Linked DNA regions of Homo sapiens: all the other regions are linked to region 1. Evidence: promoter capture Hi-C in human tissues and cell types (Jung and others, 2019). All regions are on one chromosome and are shown on one strand. Each heading gives the region's core, a stretch centred on a gene start or on the middle of the fragment in contact. The rest is flanking DNA. Distances are from core to core; before and after follow the strand shown.

What was found. The method cuts DNA at HindIII sites, captures the fragments that hold promoters and counts their contacts. A contact is called where the count stands out against the background at its distance.
Region 2: a contact is called between the fragment with the promoter of HTT here and the fragment with the promoter of RNF4 in region 1, in 1 of the 25 tissues and cell types used here (spleen).
Region 3: a fragment that was not itself captured here is called in contact with the fragment with the promoter of RNF4 in region 1 in 1 of the 25 tissues and cell types used here (lymphoblastoid cells).
Region 4: a contact is called between a fragment that was not itself captured here and the fragment with the promoter of RNF4 in region 1, in 2 of the 25 tissues and cell types used here (dorsolateral prefrontal cortex and mesenchymal stem cells).

What each region holds. Positions count from the first base shown.
Region 1 is chr4:2,467,693-2,470,461 of GRCh38, reverse strand. RNF4 (ring finger protein 4) reads right to left here and starts at 1,356. Exons shown (of 8, transcript NM_002938.5): 1 at 1,204-1,356. LOC107986250 (a long non-coding RNA gene) reads left to right here and starts at 1,511. Exons shown (of 2, transcript XR_001741551.3): 1 at 1,511-2,062. RefSeq lists enhancers at 714-833, 878-1,450, 1,134-1,493 and a silencer at 1,644-1,813. The HindIII fragment of the contact is 20,287 bases long and covers 1-2,769 here.
Region 2 is chr4:3,073,358-3,076,126 of GRCh38, reverse strand. It overlaps HTT (huntingtin), which reads right to left and starts at 1,446. Exons shown (of 67, transcript NM_001388492.1): 1 at 1,039-1,446. The coding sequence starts at 1,301. It also overlaps HTT-AS. RefSeq lists enhancers at 551-600, 611-840 and silencers at 1,001-1,070, 1,181-1,620, 1,771-2,390. The HindIII fragment of the contact is 13,196 bases long and covers 1-2,769 here.
Region 3 is chr4:3,051,231-3,053,999 of GRCh38, reverse strand. It overlaps HTT-AS. Among named protein-coding and RNA genes, the nearest start is that of HTT, 22 kb to the left of the region's middle. The HindIII fragment of the contact is 3,017 bases long and covers 11-2,769 here.
Region 4 is chr4:2,992,587-2,995,355 of GRCh38, reverse strand. The region is part of intron 4 of GRK4 (G protein-coupled receptor kinase 4); the gene reads right to left. Among named protein-coding and RNA genes, the nearest start is that of GRK4, 30 kb to the right of the region's middle. The HindIII fragment of the contact is 3,591 bases long and covers 1-2,769 here.

The DNA of each region.
Region 1 (2,769 bases), core at 107-2,606:
AGCAATATATCTTGCTACTCGAATGCCTCTATTTCACCTCAAACTCACAGATAAAACTGAACCCAATATGTCCTTGTCCATTAAAAAGCAAATCACCAAGAAAGTAACAAAAGATTCCCTTCAATGTCTCTTTTATTGACAGTGGTCCCAAAACTCCTGGTCAATGAATTCAAAACCCAAATCTTGCAGGTAGGACTTAACCTCATCTGCTGCCAAATAGCTGGCTATGTGACCTTGGGCAGACCACTTCACTTTTCTGGACCTCAGTCTCCCCAGTCAGTTGGACAGTCTAAGCCAGGCTCCAGAGCTGAGACCCTACGTCTGGCTCAAGAACTTGGTGCAGAAACAGAACGAAGATTATTAAGTTTGTGAACGTCTATGGGAACTGACAAGTGAAAGACAAAAGCTGAAATCCCTACCAAAACGGCTTGCCCAAGCTCTATCCTTTTCCCTCTTCCCTCGATGGATCAAAGGCGGAAAAGCGGTGTTTACTAGCAACTCTGTTTCGGGTCGTGAGAATCTTCATACACCTGTCTATAGGCGCGCCAGAGCGGTGAAGGGCCCGAGCGGTGCAGGGCTGGGCCGCAAGCCTCACAGTCGCACGTTCCACCAACCACCAGCCGGGGCCCGGAAGCGCGCCCGGAAATCGAGGCCCTACTAAGTTTTAGACTGCGACCTCGGCGCCCCCACGGTCAGGCCCGCACCCGTACTCAGATCCTCCCGACCTACAAAAGGCCCCGCCACGCGGCCCACGCACCCCGGCAAACTCGCAGGCCCCACGATGGCGGGGCGGCGGCGCGAACACACAAAGGAGGCGTCGTCAGCGGGGAACAAAAACCCTGCCCGGGTCTTCCCCCTAACAGCACATCCTGCCCGACTTTCCAAGTGACCTTGGGGGCGTTCCTGCCCCTCCCAGAGTCTCAGTTTCCCTTCCTAGGCTAGGAACTAAGCCCCATGGCCGCGGCCCCCCAGGGTGAGCCGAGACCCAGACGCAGACCTCCTAACTTCTGTTGCCCGCGCCAAGCCGGGCTCGGTGCGCCCGCGCGGACGGCAGTGCGAGCGACCAGAGCTGGCTCGAGGTCCCGGGCTGCAAAGCCTCGGCTGGGTCAAGCCGCGCAGCGCGGCTCCCCCAAGAGGCGCGGGCCGAGGCCTCTGTAGGCCGCGAAGCTGCCTAAACCTCGCATCTGCAAGGCCCTGACTTACCGCTGCTTTCCCGCAAAGCTCGGCCTAACCTGGAGCTAGTTAGGTCCGCAGGCGCCACCGCCGGCGCACTCCGGAGAAGAAGCTCCTTCTTCAGCCGCCCAGGAGAGCTCCTCGAGAAAGATGCCGCCGCCTCAACAGCAACCCACTTCCGCTTCGGAGGCCTCGGCTCCGCCCCCCATCATGTCCCCATTGGCCGCCCGCCTACTCTACTTCCGCGGTCGGCCGGGTAAGGACAAATTTTTTAATCCTATTGGATAAGAAAACCATCTGTTACCACTTTAAAACGCGCCTCTTTCCGCCCCCGCCCACAATCGAGCGCACTAACTCGCACCTTCCGGCAAGAGACGGCGCGGGCGCGCCCCGCCCGCAAGGTTTTTCGGGAGTCACGGTCTGAGGGCGACCCGGGCGACCCGGTCGCCCGTGCCCGGCTGCCACTGACCGCTCCAACGCCGCCAGGGACGACCCGCCAGCTGCCTCCGGAGCCGAGCAGGCCCCGAACCTTCCCATTCCTAGATTTCCAGCCGCACAACAGCCGCGGTGCCCCTGGCTCGACGCAGCTGGCCGGAGGCGCGGAGCTGGTCGTTCGTCCCGCCCGCCGTTCCGCGCCCCTCTCCCGGCTCTTGTTTCCTCGCCTCTTAACGAGGCCTTTGTGAGGAAGGTTGCTGGGCCTTGGGACTCTGACGATCGGCTGGAAACCAGGCCTGGCCCTGTTTCAGCATCCCCGCGTGCCAAGCCCTGGGCCGGCGTGCGGGTCCCTGCCCCTGCGAGGAAGCTGGGACTTTTGCAGGCCTGGGTGGAGACGTGTACATAACAGAGGAAGAGTGTGGAGGATTGGAGGACTCAGGGCAGCACGGCAGAGGTGCATGCAGGTCCCCGGTCGGACTGGAGAATGGGCGGTGGGTTTCTTGAGCTCCAGTCCCTGAGCTCGACTTTGACGTGGGTTTAGCAACCAGGAAAAAAGCCCACCTTGTCCCTGCTGCCTGAGAATACCCAGACCTTAGTCCATGGCCAGCATCTCTGGTCCCTCGGCACCCTCAGGCAACGTGAAGGTCACCCCAAATGCCTTGGGTTACATTGTTTCCTTACAGTGAGTTTGTTTGTTTTAGTGGCGCGATCTCGGCTCACTGCAAGCTCTAACCTCCTGGGTTCACGTGATTCTCCTGCCTCAGCCTCCCGAATAGCTGGGATTACAGGCGCCTGCCACCACGCCCGGCTAATTTTCTTTGTATTTTTAGTAGAGATGGAGTTCCATCATGTTGGCCAGGCTGGTCTCGAGCTCCTGACCTCAGGTGATCCACCCTCCTTGGCCTCCAAAAGTGCTGGGATTACTGGTGTGAGCCACCTCGCCCGGCCACCTTACAGTGAGTTTCTAACCTCGAAAATGGAGTCAAATAACGGAATGACAAGGCAGATAGAAACCAGAGCATTAACGTTTTTGTGTTGCATTTACAAACAATATGTGTTTGCTATTTTTCGTAATTGTAAGGAAATCTGGCATGGTAGAGTATCTGATAGATAAATGTAATTCTCATGTAAAATATCTAAGTATTTGTGTTTTTTGTTTGT
Region 2 (2,769 bases), core at 197-2,696, 610 kb before region 1:
ACAAGCTGTCAGCAATGAAGCAAACAGAAACCCTTTCACTGGCACATCTGAGATGCCCACGGAGTCTGCGGACCCCCCGTATTCTGGCAAGCCTGACTGGAATACTGGTAAAATGTACACCTCATTCATCCCTCGGCAATTAACCTCCCCATCAGCAACGTGTTGGTTTTATTCCCAACACACATAGGCAAAAAACTTCAATCAACTCTTCCTAATATTTAAGATAATTTCATTAATCACCACGTAAGTTCACCACTTTACTTGGCAACCACAACTCATTCAAACGCCTGCAGACCAACTTAGGCTTAGATGAGCAGATCTCTTAGGTGGTGCTTAAAATCGTGTTACTACCACCGTGATCATGAACTAAATGAAATGTCCTGACAATGTAGGAAGAGCCTCAAATCTCAGGCTGTTTTAAGTGCCACTAGGAAAAGAAATCTCCCATTGGACGCGCCCTCACTCCCCGCCCCCCCCCTGCCCCGCCACTCCCGCCGAGGCGTCCTAAAAGCATTATGTCATCCACTGCCCCCACATCTCTCCAGCTCCAAACCCCGCCTCCTCTCGAAGTGTCCCGCGCCCCCAGCCCTCTTCCCTCTCAGACTAGAAGAGGGAAGTGGCACTGAGCAAATCTCGGCTCCTCCAAGTTCTCTTCACAACGCAGTTAAAAGAACCCCCGCCCTGGTTTCTCGCAAATAAAAAGAAACAAGTTCTCGCCCCAACTCTTCGCATCCTGCGAAGGGCGAGAGGGCTGAGGCCGTGACTCCCCTCGGTGAATTCAGGACAGGCCCCAACAAGGCTCTGCCTCCCCTCGCGAGAGGACAAGGGAAGACCCAAGTGAGGGAGCGGGGCTGAAGTGGGGGAAGGCCTCGCCCCAGGAGGGGGCGGGTGTCCCTCATGGGCTCTGGGTTGCTGGGTCACTCTGTCTCTGCGGGGCCGGGGGTTCGTGTCGCCGGCCCGCAGGCTGCAGGGTTACCGCCATCCCCGCCGTAGCCTGGGACCCGCCGGGACAGGGAGCTGCAGCGGGCCCAAACTCACGGTCGGTGCAGCGGCTCCTCAGCCACAGCCGGGCCGGGTGGCGGCGGGGGCGGCGGCGGGGGCGGCTGCGGCTGAGGCAGCAGCGGCTGTGCCTGCGGCGGCGGCTGAGGAAGCTGAGGAGGCGGCGGCGGCGGCGGCGGCGGTGGCGGCTGTTGCTGCTGCTGCTGCTGCTGCTGCTGCTGCTGCTGCTGCTGCTGCTGCTGCTGCTGCTGGAAGGACTTGAGGGACTCGAAGGCCTTCATCAGCTTTTCCAGGGTCGCCATGGCGGTCTCCCGCCCGGCACGGCAGTCCCCGGAGGCCTCGGGCCGACTCGCGGCGCCGCTCAGCACCGGGGCAATGAATGGGGCTCTGGGCCGCAGGTAAAAGCAGAACCTGAGCGGCCGTCCATCTTGGACCCGTCCCGGCAGCCCCCACGGCGCCTTGCGTCCCAGACGCTGCGCCGGCGGAGGCGGGGCCGCGCCGGCGGAGGCGGGGCCACGCCGGCCAGCATGATTGACAGCCCTAGCCTGCGGACTCTGCCAATGGCTGGCCAGGGAACCAGCCCGCCCCTGCCCCCGCAGGTTCTGCCTCACACAGCAAGGCCGCTGACAGCGCAGCGCCCCACCCGGGCGAAGGCGCGGGGCTCAACGGAGAGGGGACGGGGCGTGGTGAGACTGTAATGGGGTGAGGCGAAGCTGTGTGTGAAGTGTCGCGGCGAGGCGGGACGAGGAAGGGACGGGGCGGGACTGCATGGTAAGGGAGGCGTGGCGATGCGGGGGGCGTGGCGATGCGGGGGGCGTGGTGAGGTAGGGGCGTGGCGAGGCCGGGGCGGGGCACAGCAGGGAGGCCGCCTGAGGGGCGGGGCGAGACGGGGGCGGGGCGGGGCGATGCTGGGGACGGGGACATTAGGCAGGCCGGCTGAGGGGCGGGGCGGCTGAGGGGCGGAGCGGGATAGGGGAGGGGACTGGCCGGTGAGGGGTGGGGAGGCTGGGGGCGGGGCAGGAAGGTGAGAGGTGGGGCGAGGGAGGGGTGGGGCGCGGAGGGGCAGGGCCATGGAGGGGCTCGCCCATGAAGGACGGGGCCATGGACGGGGCGGGGCCGTGGAGGGGGCGCCGAGCGCGGGCGCAGGCCCATGCGGAAAGGATCCCCCGCCGACGCCTGGAGCGGGGCGACAGCCGGCCGTGGACTCTGAGCCGAGGTGGCCTTGGGGTTTGCCCTCCCGCCACACTGGCCCGTGGCCAGAGCCATACTCACCCGGACAGCCCTGCGGGGAGCCAGCTGCGGGGCTCTCTGCACGGGGAGAGGGTGGGCGAGCTCCTGCGCAGAGCGCAGAGAATGCGCGTGGTCGGCACGACCTGAGGACCCCAAGTGTGACCCCCACCCCACCCCCAGTGAGCTGGAGAGGCCCCTGCAGGGCGGTGTCCACAGGCCTGGCGCCCCCCATCGGTCCCAGCGCAGCGCCCCGGAAGGGAGGAGAGGGTCTGGGGCAGGCCTGGGTGGTCAGCGCCTGCTGCCCACAGAGGCACTGTGATTAGTGCAGCGAGAAGCAGCTATGGCCACAAGATGCCGCCCACAGGAATGAGTCCCGACCTGGGGGCGTTTCTTTATGGGAGTGCACCCCTGCTCTGACCTTCCGGCAGGACCCCCAAGGGGCGTCATTCAGCAGCAGCTCAGCAGAGGTCTGTGGGGCACCCCCTCACGCCTGGGACACAGGCCGTGGCGGGCAGGGTCCTGGTCTCCAGAGCCTCCTGC
Region 3 (2,769 bases), core at 270-2,769, 580 kb before region 1:
GATCATGAGGTCAGGAGTTCAAGACCAGCCTGGCCAACATGGTGAAACCTCATCTCTACTAAAAATACAAAAATTAGCTGGGCATGGTGGCATATGCCTATAATCCAAGCTACTCGGGAGGCTGAGGCAGGAGAATTGCTTGAACCCCGAGAGGCAGACGTTGTAGTGAGCCTAGATCACGCCATTGGACTCCAGCCTGGGCAACAAGAGTGAAACTCCATCTCAAAAAAAAAAAAAAAAAAGAAGTTAGCAAACCTAATATCTAACCTGCCTAATTTAGGCCAAATGTCTTTATTTTCACCAGTAACCTTTAAAACTTTTTATTTCCCAAAGATTACTGAAGTTACATGCACTAAAAGGCATTAGAGTTTTTATTTTTCTTTCAAAATATTTGATTTAAGCACTCATTTTTCTTAAAGCCAATTAATTAGAGCTCTTTTATTTATTTTTATTTTTATTTTTATTTTGAGACAGAGTCTCACTCTGTCATCCAGACTTGGGTGCAGTGGCACAATCTTGGCTCAGGGCAACCTCCACCTCCTGAGTTCAAGTGATTCTCCTGCCTCAGCCTCCTGAGTAGCTGGGATTACCAGCATGCGCCACCACACCTGGCTAATTTTTGTATTTTTAGTGGAGACGGGGTTTCGCCTGGTTGGCCAGGCTGGTCTCGAACTCCTGACCTCAGGCGATCCACCCACCTCAGCCTCCCAAAGTGTTGGGATTATAGGCGTGAGCCAATGTGCCTGGCAATTAGAGCTCTTTTATATAAACATTAAACACACAACACATATATAACTACACAGACAGACAGAAGAAGATCCAATAGTTGTAAGATTTTTCATTTACCACTTTCTAAGTTTCTAAATTGGATTACTGGCTTTAGGATGGAGTCCTTGGAAGAACAGGACCAGGAAAGCATGCAGTTTCTAGGGCCTAATATAATAAGCAGGCACAGCTGGAAGGCAAAACGGATCTCCAAAAATTAAGGGTCTCTTTTTTTTTTTTGAGACGGAGTCTTGCTCTGTCACCAGGCTGGAGTGCAGTGGCACCATCTCAGTTCACTGCAACCTCCGCCTCCTGGGTTAAAGCGATTCTTCTGCCTCAGCCTCCCAAATAGCTGGGACTATAGGCGCATGCCGCCATGCCCGGCTAATTTTTTTTTATTTTTATTTTAGTAGAGGTGGGGTTTCACCATGTTGCCCAGGCTGGTCTCGAACTCCTGAGCTCAGGCAATCCACCCACCTCGGCCTCTCAAAGTGCTAGGATTACAGGCGTGAGCCACCATGCCCAGCCTGAGGTCTCGTTTTTATACCAGATCCTGGATCCCCCCCAAAAAAGAGGGAGTCAGCCCCATAACTGCCATTAGACATCCCTAAAGTATATTTCCTGCCTAGTTATTACACACCAAGTCTCTATGTGAAGTAATTTCTGATACCCCCAAGTAAAAAACAGTAGATAATCCAATGCAAAACAGAACAGAGCCTTAGATTTTGAAAGGAATCTATCTACTTCCAATTTCTGGGGTTTCATGAGTAAAACAGAGTTTTTTCCCAAAACGGGGTCTCTGGCACCTCCTGTTTTCCCAAGGAGTCCCAGGCTGTTAGAGCCAGAATATCTACTTTTAATTAAGCTGACTTTTAACCATTGCACTCTTTAATAAAAGTTCTTTTAAATTGCTTATTACCCAACTTTCATCAGGCCAAACAGCCAATATTCCTGCCTTTAAACTATTGAAAGTAACCTCCCAGGTGCTCTGAGAAAGGCAATTCAAGACAGTTTGTGGAGGGGGAGAAAATCAAAAAATGGCAAAGGTTACCCAAATATCAATTAGAAAGTACTCATTCCCTAAGCCAGGAATCAAACCCAGATCACCACTGAACTATAGCACTGGGCAGTCTCCATTGCCCTTCCCAGAAAGAGTCTAGAGTAGTTAATTTTCAGCTGGCAAAGCCTCGTAACTACTCAAGATAGATTGTAGAGCTAACTATGACATGAACCCAAAATTCCTGTTCCACTTGGAAGGTGGAGACCAAGTAACCGCCACATGGTTACAAGGTCAAACTCCCAAAGACTTAAAACAAGATGGAGACCTCATCTAGTTTTTTTGTTTGTTTCAGGGATCTGCAGCAGTTACTGACCAGCTTGTTGGGCCATCTTGAGCGGCGAGCAAGCTTATGGGGTTTTAAGCCCATGTTCTATCCTAAGGCGCCCCTTTTTATCACAGAACAGCACGGGAAGACACATAAAGCCTACGAGATTCACTACAGCCTGAGATTAGCCTCACAAATCCTTTTTTCCATTAATCAAAACTTTACAGAGGAGATAAGCAGTGATTTTTTTTTTTTTAATTCATTCAACCAGTTTGAACACACAGAGAGAGAGAGGTCAGAAATCTGACTGGTAAGAAATTCTTACCCTTTTGCTGTGTGCCAGGCTTCTGGATTCCCTTTCCCTGAGTAGCCCTAGTGACCCAGCTCTCCACATCATATCCCTGAGGGCCAAGCCACATCATAAAGGAAAATGATCTTTTTTTGTTTCATTGAACCACAGGCAAAAGCCTCTCAACTTTTAAATTTGAGCAGCAAGTTGCCACCCAACTGGCTGCATGGGGGCACCAAATATCAAACTGGCAAAAGGCCAGGCGCGGTGGCTCACACCTATAATCCCAGCACTTTGGGGGGCCAAGGCAGGTGGATCACCTGAGGTCGGGAGTTCGAGACCAGCCTGACCAACGTGGAGAAACCCCGTCTCTACTAAAAATACAAAATT
Region 4 (2,769 bases), core at 99-2,598, 520 kb before region 1:
TCAGCTTCTTCATTTTAGGTCAACAACACCTTGAACTGGGCATCCTAGCCTCTAAAACTGTGAGCCAAGAAATTTCTTTTTATTATAAATTACCCAGTCTCCATGCACGCATATGTTCATTGCAACACTATTTGCAATAGCAAACACATGGAATCAACCTAAATGCCCATCAATGATAAACCGGATAAAGAAAATGGGGTACATATACACTATGGAATACTATGCAGCCGTAAAAAAGAGAACGATCATGTTCTTTGCAAGAACATGGATGGAGCTGGAGGCCATTATCCTTAGCAAACTAACACAGGAACAGAAAACCAAATACCACATATTCTTACTTAAGAGTGGGAGCTAAATGATGAGGACACATGGACACACAGAGGGAAACACCACACAATGGGGCCTATTGGAGGATGGGGGATGTGGGGAAGGAGCAGATCAAGAAAAATAACTAAAGGGTGCTAAGCTTAATACCTGGGTGATGAAATAATCTGTACAACAAACCCCATGATGCAAGTTTACCTACGTAACAAACCTGCACATGTACCCCCGAACTTAAAATAGAAGTTAAAATAAATAAATACATAAATTACCCAGTCTCTGGCATTCTATTACAGCAGCACAAAACAGACTAAGGCACCAAGCCACACATGTATAACCTCCCCTTCCCTCCTCTTCCACATTTGCTATATCTACCATGATTCATTTTTAAATTTTTTCTTTTGTTTTTCTTTATAATTATTTCTTTCTTCTTGATGCCCTCCCTTGCTATATGGGTATTTCTTCAGAAGAGGTGAAGAAAGAAAAGGGAGCTAATTTAAAAAGAATAATAACTAGATAAATGGAGCCGGGTGTAGTGGTTCACGCCTGTAATCCCCACAATTTGGGAGGCCGAGGCAGGCAGATCACTTGAGGCCAGGAGTTCGAGACTAGCCTGGCCAATATGGCAAAACCCCGTCTGTACTAAAAATATAAAAAGTAGCCAAGTGTGGTGGTGCACACCTGTAATCCAAGCTACCCAGGTGGCTGAGGCATGTGAATCACTTGAACCCGGGAGGCAGAGGCTGCAGTGAGCCAAGATCGTGCCACTGCACTCCAACCTGCACAACAGAGCAAGGTGCTATCTCAAAAAAGGGAAAAAAATAAAAATAAAAATTAGAACTAGATAAATGAAACTTCTACTCATTCTAACTAGTGTCCTGGGGGTACCTACAAATATGCTCATGTTGTAACAGCTGTGTTTGAGAGAGTAATCTGTAAGGCTGGAGGCTGGGGTAGAAAACTCATTAGGGTCTGAATCACACCTCTGACACCCACTGCTATGTATCTTTGTGCTGCTAGATGGTCCTGCTGGCCATCCCCTCTGGCACTCTATTTTTTGTACAACGAAGCTCCCCTAAGATGATGGCCCTATATCCAGTTGGCTATGTTTCAAATCCAAATATTTTGAACTCATTCTCACCACACTATTCACTAATTCCATTCTCCACATGTTCGATTCCTGGTTCTGACACTTACTAGGTGTGTAACCTTGGGTAAGTCACTTAGTCACTGATTTTCAGTCTTATCATATGAAAATAGACTTGAGAATAGTATCTACCTCATAGGTTTGTTGTGATAATTACATAATGTATTACATGTTAGAGCAGTGATTTTTTTGTGTTTTTTTGTTTGTTTTGTTTTGAGACAGAGTCTCGCTTGTTGACCAGGCTAGAGTGCTGTGGCACGATCTCAGCTCACTGCCACCTTTACCTCCCAGGTTCAAGTGATTCTCATGCTTCAGCCTCCCTATTAGCTGGGATTACAGGCATGCACCACCACGCCTGGCTAATTTTTGTATTTTTAGTAGAGACAGGGTTTCACCATATTGGCCAGGCCTGTGTCGAATTCTTGACCTCAAGTGATCTACCCGCCTCAGCCTCCCAAAGTGCTGGGGTTACAGGCGTGAGCCACCACACCTGGCCTAGAGCAGTGTTAATTACATGTTTGCTATCCCTGTTGTTCCTTTTCTCCTTCCATCCTTACAATATAGGGCCCTGCCCAGAATTGAGGACTTCTAACAGAAGTCACATGAAAGGAAGCAGGTTACAGCTCTAATTTCAGTGACATACTGAACTACAAGAACCAAGTAAGTCAAAAGCATAAAAGCTAAGACCCATTAAAGCTTTTAGGAAAAAATGTTATTTTTAGTCCAAGAGAGACAAATAAAATTCTCCAACTCTATATTCTGAAACTTTAAATACACTGAATCAATTTTCTAAGAGATCTAATTGTTAGTTTCCTCATGACATCAAACAAAATGCAAAAGAGGAACATTTATAATAAATTCAAGCTTTTTAAAGATTAATTAATTGATGTTGGGAGGTAGTTTTGAGACAGGGTCTTACTCTCTTGTCCAGGCTAGAGCATAGCAGTATGATCCCAGCTCACTGCAGCCTTGACCTCCTGGGCTCAAGCAGTCCTCCCACCTGAGCCTCCCAAGTAGCTGAGAACACAGGTGCACGCCACCATGCTTAGCTAATTTTTTTTTTCTTTTTTGTAGCAATGCGGTTTTGCCATATTGCCCAGGTTGGTTTTGAACTCCTGAGCTCAAGCGATCTGCCTGCCTCGGCCTCCCAAAGTGCTGAGATTACAGGCATGAAACACTGTGCCTGGCCTTACTTTTTATTTTTTTAAGACAGGGTCTTGCTCTGTCACCCAGGCTAGAATGCAGTGGCATGACCTTGGCTCACAGCCACCTCAATCTCCTGGGCTCAAGCGATCCTCCCA